2 separate regions of the Homo sapiens genome follow, and region 2 is linked to region 1. The links are contacts of gene promoters, found by promoter capture Hi-C in blood cells and fetal thymus (Javierre and others, 2016). All regions are on one chromosome and are shown on one strand. The core of a region is centred on a gene start or on the middle of the fragment in contact, and the rest is flanking DNA. Distances in the headings are between cores, read along the strand shown. Region 1 holds the start of MPV17L2 (MPV17 mitochondrial inner membrane protein like 2). Region 2 overlaps LSM4 (LSM4 homolog, U6 small nuclear RNA and mRNA degradation associated).

The links. The method cuts DNA at HindIII sites, captures the fragments that hold promoters and counts their contacts. A CHiCAGO score of 5 or more calls a contact.
Region 2: a contact is called between a fragment that was not itself captured here and the fragment with the promoter of MPV17L2 in region 1, in 2 of 17 cell types (monocytes and total B cells). The highest score is 5.8, in monocytes.

The regions. Positions count from the first base shown.
Region 1 is chr19:18,189,175-18,195,896 of GRCh38, reverse strand. It overlaps MPV17L2 (MPV17 mitochondrial inner membrane protein like 2), which reads right to left and starts at 2,679. Exons shown (of 5, transcript NM_032683.3): 1 at 2,429-2,679; 2 at 1,863-2,033; 3 at 1,044-1,120; 4 at 811-939. The coding sequence starts at 2,615. RefSeq lists an enhancer at 2,535-2,584 and a silencer at 2,975-3,154. The HindIII fragment of the contact is 3,564 bases long and covers 127-3,690 here.
Region 2 is chr19:18,300,538-18,307,259 of GRCh38, reverse strand. It overlaps LSM4 (LSM4 homolog, U6 small nuclear RNA and mRNA degradation associated), which reads left to right. Exons shown (of 5, transcript NM_012321.5): 5 at 1-1,024. Among named protein-coding and RNA genes, the nearest start is that of LSM4, 19 kb to the left of the region's middle. RefSeq lists enhancers at 1-319, 1,786-2,291, 2,182-2,561 and a cis regulatory region at 5,791-6,210. The HindIII fragment of the contact is 1,810 bases long and covers 453-2,262 here.

The DNA.
Region 1 (6,722 bases), core at 1,430-3,929:
CAGGGACCGGGCTGAGGTCACATCAGACAGCAGAGAAGGGTTGGGTCTTTTTGTTTGTTTGAGACGGAGTCTCGAACTGTCGCCCAGGCTGGAGTGCAGTGGCGCGATCTCGGCTCACTGCAAGCTTCGCTGCCCGGGTTCAGGCCATTCTCCGGTCTCAGCTTCCGGAGTAGCTGAGACTACAGGCGCCCGCCACCACGCCCGGCTAATTTTTTTTTTGTATTTTTAGTAGAGACAGGGTTTCACCATGTTAGCCAGGACGGTCTCGATCTCCTGACCTCGTGATCCGCCTGCCTCGGCCTCCCAAAGTGCTGGGATTACAGGCGTGAGCCACCGCGCCCGGCATGGGTCTTTTTTTTTTGAAACGGAGTCTCGCTCTGTCACCTAGGCTGGAGTGCAGTGGCATGATCTTGGCTCACTGCAGCCTCTGCCTCCTGGGTTCAAGCAATTCTCCTGCCTCAGCCTCTCAAGTAACTGGAATTACAGGTGCGTACCAGTAATTTTTTGTATTTTTAGTAGAGAAGGGGTTTCACCATATTGCCCAGTCTGCTCTCTAACTCCAATTTCAGGCGATCCACCCGCTTCGGCCTCCCAAAGTGCTGGGATTACAGGCATGAGCCACGGCGCTCAGCCACGGCTGGGTCTTAACTGCTAGTGAGGAGCTCTCCGCCAGCCCACTGTTGGGTGTGGGTTGTCAGGAGCACAGGAGACTCCCACCCTCCAGGGTGGCTGGCTACACTGCCACTTGGAGCTCACACGTGTAGCCCCCTGGGGAGTCCCCTGGGTGCCTGGTATGCCCTCCACACTCACCCGGTACTTCAAGTAGGACAGGTACGTGTCCCAGCCCAGCGTCAGGCCGTTGATGTAGGTGACTCGAAATTGGGGGGGCACGAAGAGGAAGTTCACGAACTGCGCAGCAGGCCACACGCACCAGTCTGCCTGCGGGGAGAGGCGGGGGATGAGGGGCGGGGCCAGAGCTGGGCGGGGGCGGAGCGGCCATCAGGGGGCGGGGCCGGACATGTGCAAGGGGCGGGTGCTCCCACCTTGTAGAATTCCCAGAACTTCTCCCGCAGCTCCTGGCAGCTCTCACCCACTGTCTGACCCTCCAGGCAGCCAAGGCCTGGGAAGCAAACCAAGAAATGAGAGTGTTAGAGGCCAGGAAGTACTGTTGAGACGACAAGATGGGCTGACGATGGAGGGGGCGGGGTTGGGCCCCTGAGAGCCCACGCCGCCCACCCCGGGCAGAGGGACAGGGACTTTCAGATGGGATGGACAGAGAATTAGGGTAGCTGGTGTAGAGACAAAACAGAGCAAGTCAGTCCCAGTGAGAGAAAGAGAGGTTATAAACATATAAACACGTGCCCCAATGGAGACACCCTGAAGTTGAGGGAGTTGTGTTACTTTTCCATCACAGACCAGGAAGCCGGGCTGGGAGGTGGAGAATGAGAGACTCCTCTATTAATACCGCTGTCTTTACCGAGCCTAGGGCTGGCACGGTTGCACCCCATTAAGTCTAGCCTCAATTTCTCTTCCTTCAGGCCTCAGAGCCTTTGCATTAGCTGTTCCCTCTGCCCGCTGGTTCCCTCTTCATGTCTCAACTGAGTGTGGTCCCCTTCTTTGGGAAATGCTCTCAACCTCCCGCCCAGGGCAGCCCCAACAGATACAGTCCTCGTCCCTCCTACACTCGCCAGCGTTCACATCGGCCGAGTCCGTCCTGTCCCCGCTGTGACCTGGCTCCTAGTCCAGGGCGACCCAAACAGGGGGCAAATTGGAAATGCACCTCTGCATCCTTCTTAACACAAAGCTGGCTCCACCCCTCCCGACCTATGAGAGGCAAAGCCTAGGCTTAGGAGGCTCCTTACCCAAGAAGTACCAGACGCCCAGCAATGGAGAGGCTACCAGCTGATCCACGAGGACCTTCTTGAGGACATTTGGGAAGCCTCGGAGGCCAGACGCAGGGAATAGGCGGTCCAGCGACAAGTACCAGTAGTGCAGGAAGGGACCCATGCTGCAGCCCACCGCAAACATGCTCGCTATAAGAGTGTAAGTCAGGGGGCTGGGTCGGGCCGGCAAGTTCCTCAGTCCATTCCCTCTCTCCCTCCCTGGCTAAGGCCTGGGTAAGCCCAATGCCATCCCGGAGCCTCAGCCTCACCGGGAAAACCGGAAGAGCCCACCCGTGCATTCTTCCACTACAAGCCCCACCAGGAGGCGCGGCTCCAGAGGCTCCTGGGTAGTGGGCAGAGACCTCCGGGGGTTGGGAGGTGATGGAGACCCAGAGCTGCGGGGAGACAGACACCCGGGGAGAGGCGCGGTCAGGGCAAGGGTCCTGCGGGGGACTGAGGCCACGGGTCAGGGGTCACGGCCCGCAGTCGGGTGTCGGGATCAAAGGTCGCCCGGGGTGAAGGACTAAGCAGCGTGGCGTCCTCACCGGAGCGCCGTGGGTCGAAAACCTGGCCGGGCCGGGCGCGGATCTCCCAGGACTGGCGCACGCCATCACCGGCCGCCATGAGCGCGCCGCAGCCCAGCGTGTTAGTGACGAGCAGCGCGCGGCCCTGGAATAGAAGCTGCCCCGCGGATAACAGGCGGCGTAGCCGGCGCCAGCCACCCCGCGCCATCGCCCTCAGGAACCAAGGAACCGGCGCGCCGCTCTGCTTTCGCCGCGCCGACCAGTCGCGAGTCACTGTCGATCCCAAATTGCCCGCCCCTCCGGCTCCCCGGCCAATCGCATAAGGATCTTCAGTCCGCAGGTCCGCCCCGAGCCGCGACGCGTTCACCAATCGCAGGCAGCCTCGGGGAGCCACATTGCCCGGCCCGAAGAGTATTGACCAATAAAAGGCAGGCGTTCTATCCCAAGGTCGAGCCCCCAACGACCTCCCGAGCTTCACGGACCAATCGGAAAAAAGAATTGCGTTACGTCCCGCATGCCGATTGGTAACGTTGCACTCTTGTTTCCCCGCCCCTTTCTGTGCCAGCCTATGGGAAACCGTCGCAGCCCCGTCCTACCGACACGCCCAGGACGGCACTGGCCAGTCGCAGACCGGCGTCACGCTGGCAAATCAGTGACCGTCGTCCCGCCTCCCGCGTTAGGGTTGGTCAATCTTAGGCAGTTACAACGCCTTCTGGCCTGGTTGCCCTACGTATTTCCAGATTCTCCTGGACTTAACCAGAAGGGATGTGATCTGTGGCCAGAAACAATTATATCCTAATTATACCGTTCCCGTAGGGAACAATTATTTTTTTTCTTTTTTTGAAATGGAGTCTCGCTCTGTCACCCAGGCTGGAGTGCGGTGGCGCGATCTCGGCTCACCGCAACCTCTCCCTCCCGGGTTCAAGCGATTCTCGTGTCGCAGCCTCCCAAACAGCTGGGATTACAGGCACGGGCCACCACGCCCAACTAATTTTGTATTTTTGGTCTAGACAGGGGTTTTGCCATGTTAGCCAGGCTGGTCTCGAACTCCTGACCTCAAGAGATCCACCCGCCTTGGCCTCCCAAGGTGCTGGGATGATGATAGGCGTGAACCACCGTAACTGGCTTAAAAAATGATTTTCAATGGAAATCCCTATGCATTCTCTACTAGAGTCGCAAACTACTGCCTGTGGGCTGTTAACTGTTGAAGGTGTGCAGGTTCTTGGCATCTTGAACAAAGAATTGGACAAAGTGCACAAACAAAGCAAGGAAAGAATGAAGCTTAACAAAAGCAGAGATTTATTGAAAACGAAAGTACACTCCGCAGGGTGGGAGCCAGTGGAGCATACGGACTCAAGAGACCTGTTTAAGAATTTTCTGGGGTTTAAATGCCCTCTAGAGGTTTTCACTGGTTACTTAATGTACGTCCTATGTAAATGAAGAGGATGAAGTAAAGTTACAAAGTCATTTACTGGATGTATGCCCTCTTTAAATGGAGAAGATATTTCCTGTCATAGCTGAATTGTTTCCATTTGATTTGGCCTTATGTTCCCTGCCTCCAGACCTATTCTCCTGCCTCAGGGCCAAATCCTGTCCCTGCCTGTTTTGTGCTGCTCATGATGAGCTAAAGGTGTTTCTTACATTTTTTAAATGGTCAGTCAAGAAGGTGGGGATTGGCCAGGCGCAGTGGCTCACGCCTGTAATCCCAAACAGTTTGGGAGGCGGAGGCAGCTGGATCACCTGAGGTCAGGAATTCAAAACCAGCCTGGCCAACATGGTAAAACCCCATCTCTATTAAAAATACAGAAATTAGCCAGGGGCGTGGTGGTGGGCGCCTGTAATCCCAGCCACTCGGGAGGCTGAGGCAGGGTAATCTCTTGAACCCGAGAGGTGGAGGTTGCAGTGAACCGAGATAGCTCCAGTCTGGGCCACAGAGCGAGACTGTCTCAAAAAAAAAAAAAAAAAAAAAAAAAAAAGGCTGTGCCTAGGGCCGTGGTCACTCACGTTTGGCTCAGAATTAACCTCTTTAAATATTTTACGGAGTTTCTTTTTTTTTTTTGAGAGAGTCTCGCTCTGTGGCCCAGGCTAGAGTGCAGTGGCGCGATCTTGGCTCACTGCAAGCTCCACCTCCCGGGTTCACGCCATTTTCCCGCCTCAGCCTGGCGAGTAGCTGGGACTACAGGTTCCCGCCACCAAACCCGGCTAATTTTTTATATTTTTAGTAGAGACAGGGTTTCACCGTGTTAGCCAGGATGGTCTCGATCTCCTGACCTCATGATCCGCCCGCCTCGGCCTCCCAAAGTGCTGGGATTACAGGCGTGAGCCACCGCGCCCGGCCCATATTTTACAGAGTTTCACTCTTTTTGTCAACAAATGGCATGATTGTGTTTCAATAAAGTTTTACTTATGGACACAAATTTGCATTTCATATAATTTTCAGGTCATAGAATAAGCCAAACGTCATTGAAACACAATCATGCCATTTGTTGGCCTGTAAAAAGTAAAACTGAAATATGGCTTTTTTTTTTTTTTGAGACGGAGTCTTACTCTGTTGCCCAGGCTGGAGTGCAGTGGCACAATATCAGCTCACAGCAACATTTGCCTTCCAGGTTCAAGCGATTCTCCTGCCTCAGCCTCATGAGTAGCTGGGATTACAGGCACCCGCCGCCATGCCTAGCTATTTTTTGTAGTTTTGTAGAGACGGGGTTTCACCATGTTACTCAGGCTGGTCTTGAACCCCTGATCTCAAATCCACCTGCCTCGGCCTCCCAAAGTGCTGGGATTACAAGAGTGAGCCACCATGCCCAGCCTACAATATGGGTTTTTACAACAAAAATTTGCCCAGTCAGAGGACACCCTTCATGGTTTTCTGATTTTTTTTTTGAGATAGAGCCTTCTTCCTTCCTTCCCCCAATTTAAAACTTTTATTTAAAGAAAGGTTTTGTTTTTTTTTCCTCTTTAGTAGAGACAGGGTCTCACTATGTTGCCCAGGCTAGCCTTGAACTGTACTGAAGCAATCCGCCCACTTTTGCATCCAAAAGTGCTGGAATTACAGGCATGAGTTACTGAGAATAGATAAAATGACATGTCCCCCTGGGCAATAGGAGAACAGTGAGTTTCGTAAAGTGGGACAAATAAACAGAACAATACAAAAAAAACCTGATCAATGCCGGGCGAGGTGGCTCAGGCCTGTAATCCCAGTACTTAGGGAGGCCAAGGCGTCCGAATCATGAGGCCAAGTGATTGAGACCAATCTGGTCAACACGGTGAAACACCGTTTCTACTAAAAATACAAAAATGAGCTGGGCACGGTGGCACACGCCTGTAGTCCCAGCTACTCAAGAGGCTGAGGCAGGAGAATCGCTTGAACCCGGGAGGTGGAGGTTGCAGTGAGCCGAGATCTCACCACTGCACTCCGGCCTGGCAACAGGGCGAGACTCCGTCTCAAAAAACAAACAAACAAACAAACAAACAAACAAACAAACCACTGGGTGTGGTGGCCCCCACCTGTGATTCCAGCTACTCCGGAGGGTGAGGCAGGGGAGTCGCTTGAACCCTGGAGGCAGAGGCTGCAGTGAGCCGAGATTGCGCCACCGCACTCCAGCCTGGGTGACAGAGCCAGACTGTCTCAAAAAAAAAAAAAAAGAAAAAGAAAGTGGGAGTTGAACAATGAGAACACATGGACACAGGGAGGGGAACATCACATTCCGGGACCTGTCAGAGGGTGGGATAGGGGAGGGATAGCATTAGGAGAAATAACTTCTTTTTTTTTTTTTTTTTTTTGAGACGGAGTCTCGCTCTGTCATCCAGGCTGGAGTGCAGTGGCGCGATCTCGGCTGGCTGCAAGCTCCGCCTCCCGGGTTCACGCCATTCTCCTGCCTCAGCCTCTCCGAGTAACTGGGACTACAGGCGCCCGCCACCACGCCCGTCTAATTTTTTGTATTTTTAGTAGAGACGGGGTTTCACCTTGGTCTCGATCTCCTGACCTCGTGATCAGCCCGCCTCGGCCTCCCAAAGTGCTGGGATTACAAGCGTGAGCCACCGCACCCGGCCAGCATTAGGAGAAATACCTAATGTAGATGACCGGTTGATGGGTGCAGCAAACCACCATGGCACGTGTATACATACCTATGTAACAAACCTGCACCTTCTGCACGTTCTGCACATGGATCCCAGAACTTAAAGTATAATAATAGTAAAAAAGAATTCAATGTAGATGTATGGATTTGGTTCTGGGTTCTCCATTCTGTTCCATTTATGTATGTGTCTATTTTTGTGCTGGTACTATGCTGTTTTTGTTACTGTAGATCTATAG
Region 2 (6,722 bases), core at 108-2,607, 110 kb before region 1:
GGTTTTGTGAAACGGCCGTCCCAAAACTGGCTGGATTCCTAGAAGAGTCTGTGTTGAAGGCATCTTTCAAGCCCTCGCTCTGGTTCTCAGGGCAGCATTTTCCAGGCGGGTTTGTTTTGCATTTCTTGGAGCCTCTCCGAGCAGCAACCAGACGGGAGATTTTTATTTTAAGCTGTTCATGCTGGGACTGACAGCCTGCAGGGTTTCCTTGGGCGCGGCCCCAAAATTGCCTTCAAAACAAACCCGGGACGGTTGAAAGCCTTCGAACCGTGCAGGGGATGCCTCGGGCCCTGGCCCTTCGCTTCCTCTCTTGTGTTATGGAAATAAAAACAAATAAAACTACACACTGCACATCCACTGTTCCTTTTGAGCTTCTGGGTGCACCTAGCGGGTCTCCTGCCCTCTGTCCATCGCTGGACTCTCAGGAAATCCCCGTTCCCGTAAGGGAAGCTTCCTTTTGAGAGTTCTCACCAGGTGTCAGCGGCACAGTGAGGCACTGATGTCCTTTTACAAAAGGCAAGACCAGCATCTGGACAGTGGGGGCTCTTGAGAGTCCCCGGCGCCCCCCACACCAGGTTGTCCTATAACCCTCTCCCCTCTGTGGAGACGTTAATGCCAAGGGGTGTGTGGGGAGGGAAGTCCCAGGCAGGGGCCACGCATGGTCCCCATCACCCCCTCCTGGGTGGCCTGGACTCCATCATCTATCCTCATCTGTCCACACTGGCGTTCACACAGAGAAGACAGGACAGGAATCCCCTCGGAAGATGCTCATGGAAGATTCTCACGAGGCTCCTGCCCCCTTTCTGAGCCAGGCCGGGTTTGCCACTCCTCGGGCGCGCACCTGAGACACTGAGTCAGCGCTTTCGAGAAAGGCTCCGGGTAGCATCTGTGGACCGTGAAGAAACCAGAGGGAAGCCCTGAGCCAGGCAGCGGCCCGTCCCCCTGCATAGCCTTCTCTTCAGGGTCCTCGTTCGGAGACCTATTTTGAGAGGTGATTGGAATAAAAGGTCCCGTCCGTGAGGAACTCTTTTTCTTGAGTCTTCAGAGTTACTTGCCATCGTATAGATTTTGCATTTACAATGTCCTCGCCTGGGATGTTCTCCTTGTGTGTGGGGTGGGGGACAGGGATGGATATCTGCAGTCGCCTGAATCCTCTCCGCCACAGCGGCACTTGATTGATGGTTAGAGATGGGGCATGTGGGGTCCAGGATGTGGCCTGCCCTGAACCTCACAAACCCGCCCCCTCAACACAGGCAGGGGCAGCAGTTGGGGGCCCGGGCCTGGAAGCCTTGGGATGCACCGGCCCACGGCACCCACCTGCCTGTTGGACAAGAGCATTTTTTTTTTTTTTTTGAGACGGAGTCTCGCTCTGTTGCCCAGGCTGGAGTGCAGTGGCACAATCTTGGCTCACTGCAACCTCTGCCTCGTGTGTTCAAGCGATTCTCTTGCCTTAGCCTCCTGAGTAGCTGGGATTACAGGTGTGCACCAACACAGACGGCTAATTTTTGTATTTTTAGTACAGACACAGTTCCACCATGTTGGCGAGGCTGGTCTTGAACTCCTGATCTCAAGTGATCCTCCCGCCTTGGCCTCCCAAAGTGCTGGGATTACAGGCATGAGCCACTGCGCCTGGTCGACAGGAGCATCTCTTGGCACACCCCATGCCCCTACAGTGTGGGCCGTGCAGGGGGCTGGGCTCACAGGGCGAGGTGGGTGGGGCAATGTTTAGAGGAGGAGGGAAGGAAGGGTGGGGAGCAGGGAGGCCCCATTTGCAGCTCCTGCCCCATGTCCTAGACTCACCGGCCCTTAGAGGCCTCTGGGGCTCTCCAAGGGGCCTGGGCTCCTTCCTCCCAGGGGTTGTGTGTGTCACGAGGCGTGGATCAAATCCAGGAGCTCTGGGGTCAGGCATCCTGGGAAGTTGGGATGGGAAAGCCCTCGAAGGCCCCTTCCCCTTCCTGATCTCCGTTTGGTTTTTTCTCCCTGACCAGGCTCTGAACTCAGAATGTGTTCCAACACCCCCTAGGTGCCTTCTCACCATTCAGGGTCCCAGGTGCTGGGGCTAATCCCCGGGCTCTTTTGCCTGCGTAATTGTGGCTTCTTGCCGGCGCAGCCAGACGCAGAGCCGGCTCTGACCTTTCCAGCCCGGCAGCTGCGGGCTCCTGGCCCGTGACTTGAGCCGCAGAGTCCCCTCGTCTGCCTCTGCCAACTTGGCCTTGTGGGCTAGAGTGGCCCCTGCTTAGGGGCAGCCAACTTCCAGAAGCTTCCGGCCCCCCTCCCTCGAGCTGGGTGTCGGACCAGCTCTGTGTTTCATTCTTCCTGGTTGGTTTCACAAAGCCTCATCCTCAGCCCCCTCAACAAGAAAAGAAACCAAAAGCACCAGTCTAGTTCCTAAATCCAAGGCTTCCAGGTCTTTCTGTCCCTCCGATGGTCTGTGCCCTCCTCACCCAACTGGGGCTGCCTTTATCGTAGATGGTCCCCACCCGCCCCCAGACCTTCTCGCCTGGAGTTTGCTTTCTGTTAGGGAGGCCCACGCCTGGCGCTGTGCTGTGACTCAGCCGGGGGCTGAGCTCTGCAGGGCCAGCCCACAGTCCCCCGCCAGAGTGCGACAGGCCCGGGTCGGCTGCTGACGCCACCTCATCCTGGAGCCAAACACCCGCTTCAGGGACAAAAGTGCAGAGGCTGGCCTTGGGCAGTGGCCCCCGAGAGGCAGCTGTGGGAAGCCATCCCTCTCTCCTCCTCCTCCTCCTCCTTCTCCTTCTCCTCCCCCATCCCCCTCCTCTCACTCCCCATCTTCCTCCCCATTCCCCTCCTCCTCCATCCTCCTCCACTCATCCCCCACTCCCATCCCCCATCCCCCTCCTCTCTCTCCTCCTCCTCTCCTCCTCTGGGCTTCACCTGCTGTTCCCAGCACTACTCTGACAGCCACCCCCAGATGGCCTGTGTCCCTGTCACCTCCCTCCCCACCTTCTTCTTTTGGAGCCCAGGGCCTGGCACGAGCCTGGCACTAGGGCCACTTGCCTTGTCCCAGGTGCTGGTGACACAGCCCCGGCAATCCTTCCCTTCCACAGGAGTGAGCCAGCCACAAGCATATGCATATCAAATGCATAAATGCTGTAAAAAGAAGAAACCAGGCCAGGCGCAGTGGCTCATGCCTGTAACCCCAGCACTTTGGGAGGCCGAAGTGGGCGGATCACCTGAGATAAGGAGTTCAAAACCTGGCCATCATGGTGAAACCCCATCTCTATTAAAAATACAAAAATTAGCCGGACGTGATGGCACAAACCTGTAATCCCAGCTACTCAGAAGGCTGAGGCAGGAGAATCGCTTGAACCTGGGAGGCGGAGGTTGCAGTGAGCTGAGATCGCGCCACTGCACTCCAGCCTGGGCGACAGATCGAGACTCTCAAAAAAAAGAAAAAGAAACCAGAAACAGGGCGGGCTCGTGAGGAGGTGAATGAAGAGGTGGTCAGGGAAGGTGAGAGAAGGACACTGAAGATTCAGGAAGGGCCTGAGAGACGAGGGAGCCAGCCACCTTGGGAAAGAACATTCTGGACCAGCAGGGGTCAGGAGGACAGTCCCGTGCAAAGGCCCTGTGCCCAGGGGACACAGGAGCAAACAGAAGGGCAGGAAATGGGGAGGATGTGGGCCCTGAGTGACATGAGAAGCAGCCACAGAGGGTTCTGGAACAGTCAGAAGCAGGGGTGGAAGCAGGAAGGGGGCAGTGCTGGGGCCTCAGGGCAGGGAGGAGGAGGCTGCCAGGGCCTAGGCTGACCAGCTGGCCTTGCCCAGGAAGTGCAGGACCCCGAGGTGGCACCTCCTTTCCACAGAGCAAGAGGAGGCCGGCTGGGTGCTGTGGCTCACAGCGGCAACTGTAATTCCAACACTTTGGGAGGTCGAGGCAGGCGGATCACCTGAGGCCAGGAGTTTGAGACCAGCCTGGCCAACGAGGTGAAACCTTATTTCTACTAAGAATACAAAAATTAGCCAGGTGTGGTGGCACGTGGTGCCTGTAATCCCAGCTACTCAGGAGGCTGAGGCAGGAGAATTGCTTAAACCCAGGAGGCAGAGGTTGCAGTGAGCCAAGATAGCGCCACTGCACTCCAGCCTGGGCGACAGAACGAGAGTCTGTCTCAAAAAAATGATACTACTAATAATAAATTAAAAATTTTTTAAAAATTTAAGAGGAGGTCCAGTCAAACCAAGTCTCGAGTGGACAAGAAGCTGCTGGCCACACAGAGAGAGCCGGAACAGGTGGAGGAACTGCAAGCACGGAGCCTCTGAACTTCTGTGGGGAAGGGGCAGAGGGGGTCAGGGCTCAGGCCAGAAGCCCCTACAGGGCCGGGCGCGGTGGCTCATGCCTGTAATCCCAGCACTTTGGGAAGGCAAGGCGGGTGGGCGCCTGTGGTCCCAGCTACTTGGGAGGCTGAGGCAGGAGAATGCCGCGAACCAGGGAGGCGGAGCTTGCAGTGATCGGAGATCACGCCACTGCACTCCAGCCTGGGCGACAGAGCAAGACTCCGTCTCAAAAGAAAAAATAAAATAAAATAAAATAAAAAAGAAGCCCCTACAGGAGCTGGGGTGGGCACTTGCAGGGATCTGTTCCTGACGCTTGGCATCAGCCACTTCTTTTTTTTTTTTTTTTTTTTGAGACAAAGTCTCACTCTGTCGCCCTGGCCGGAGGGCAGTGGCGCGATCTCCACTTACTGAAACCTCTGTCTCTCAGGTTCAAGCAATTCTCCTGCCTCAGCCTCCCGAATAGCTGGGATTACAGGCGTCCGCCACCACGCCCAGCTAATTTTTGCATTTTTTAGTAGAGACAGGATTTCGCCATGTTGGCTAGGCTGGTCTCGAACTCCTGACCTCGGGCAATCCGCCCGCCTCGGCCTCCCAAAGTGCTGGGATTACAGGCGTAAGCCATCTCGCCCGGCCAAGCATCAGCCTCTTCTCAAGGAGACTTCGAGTGAGGGCGAGGATTCCCCGAGCTCCCACTCAGCCTTGCCGCTCAGCCCCGTGGGTTTCCAAAGCCACTTCCAACCCAGCACCTCCGAGGGTCCTCACAGATGGAGAAATGAAGGCTCAGGACAGGCACACAATCCAAGCAACAGCCGATAATTGTTTTTTATTTTTTTTACAGATAGGGGTCTCACCATGTTGTCCAGGCTGGTCTCAAACTCCTAGGCTCAAACGATCCTCCCACCTTAGCCTCCCAAAGTGCTGGGATTACAGGCCTGAGCCAGTATGCTCAGCCAACCATTGTTTATCTATCATGAATGTGTGCCAGGCAGCTCCGGAACTCACCCATAGGGTGGCATCGTCATTCACTGCTCAGGCACAGAGAGGGTGAGGAACCTGCCCCAGGTCACACAGCAATGGTGACCTCCTCTTTCCACTGCCTCCTTAAACCTGAAGGATCCATTGACCTTCTCCCAGCTCAGGCACAGTCAGGACCCCAAAATTGGTTGGGAATAGGGTGTGGGGGGTAAGCAAGATCGGCTGCTGCTTTAAAACTCACTCCCCTGATTGTAACATCAGCTGAGGGACAGGATTTGAGGCACATAGTTAGGTGCCTGGAGGGCTTAACCCTACCGTGCCTCAGTTTCCTCCCTGGTCGGGGGGATAACAGCAGCTCTACCTCATGGGGGTTATTGGGCAGATTGCATGAAGGGAGGATGCCAGTAATCATTTTAGGACTGGCCTGGTATACAGCAAGTGCTCAATAAATGCTTGAAATAATCTAAGATGGCATCTCGCCTAGCACCTGTGGGGTGTCCAGAACCTCACGGGGGACCCTCCATCTTTACAACTATGGGGTTGGCGTGAGCAGCTCATTGTCCCAGGGCACCCAGGCAGTGGCCCCTCTGGATTGGCCAGTGCCATGGGGAATAGAAAGGCCGCTGTCCTCTGTGCCCTGGAGGCTGGCTTAGGAAGCCTGGCCCCAGGCCAGTGACCGTTCACCTTGCAGGCCTGCGATCCTGCCCTTCGAGCCGCCTCCCAGCCTGGGCCTGGCCTCTGCGGCCACTGGGCAGTGAGTGACTCACCCCTGCCCCGCCTCCACTGGAACCAGGCACCGAAATAGTCACCCAGCTCGCTCTCGGGAGTGGCCGTGGAAATATTTCAGGGCTGCATTCAGCACCTAAAAATACTCCTCACGTCCTCAAGTGTCTTCCCCACCCTCATCTCCCCTCCTCTGCACCACCAGGGCCAGACCCTCCTTGCCCCACCCCTCCAGCATCAAGTAACTCAGACATCCTGGCCCCAGAGCCTTCTCAAAGGTCAGCTTCTTCTGAAACCCCCTGAAATCTCAGACCAGGTTGGGGAGGCCGGGGCTCAGTGACATTGTCTGGGGAGACCTTCACTGCCCAGCAGTTTTCCTTAAACATTAAAAAAATGGCTGGGGGTGGTGGCTCACACCTGTAATCCCAGCACTTTGGGAGGCTGAGGCGGGCGGATCACGAGGTCAGGAGTTCAAGACCAGCCTGGCTAACACGGTGAAACCCAGTCTCTACTAAAAATACAGAAATTAGGCGGGCATGGTGGTGAGCGCCAGTAATCCCATCTACTCGGGAGGCTGAGGCAGGAGAATTGCTTTAACCTGGGAGGTGGGGGTTGCAGTGAGCCGAGATCATGCCACTGCACTCCAGCCTGGGTGACAGAGCAAGACTGTCTTGGGAAAAAAAATTAAAAATTAAAAAAATGGGCCAGGTGCAGTGGCTTATGCCTGTA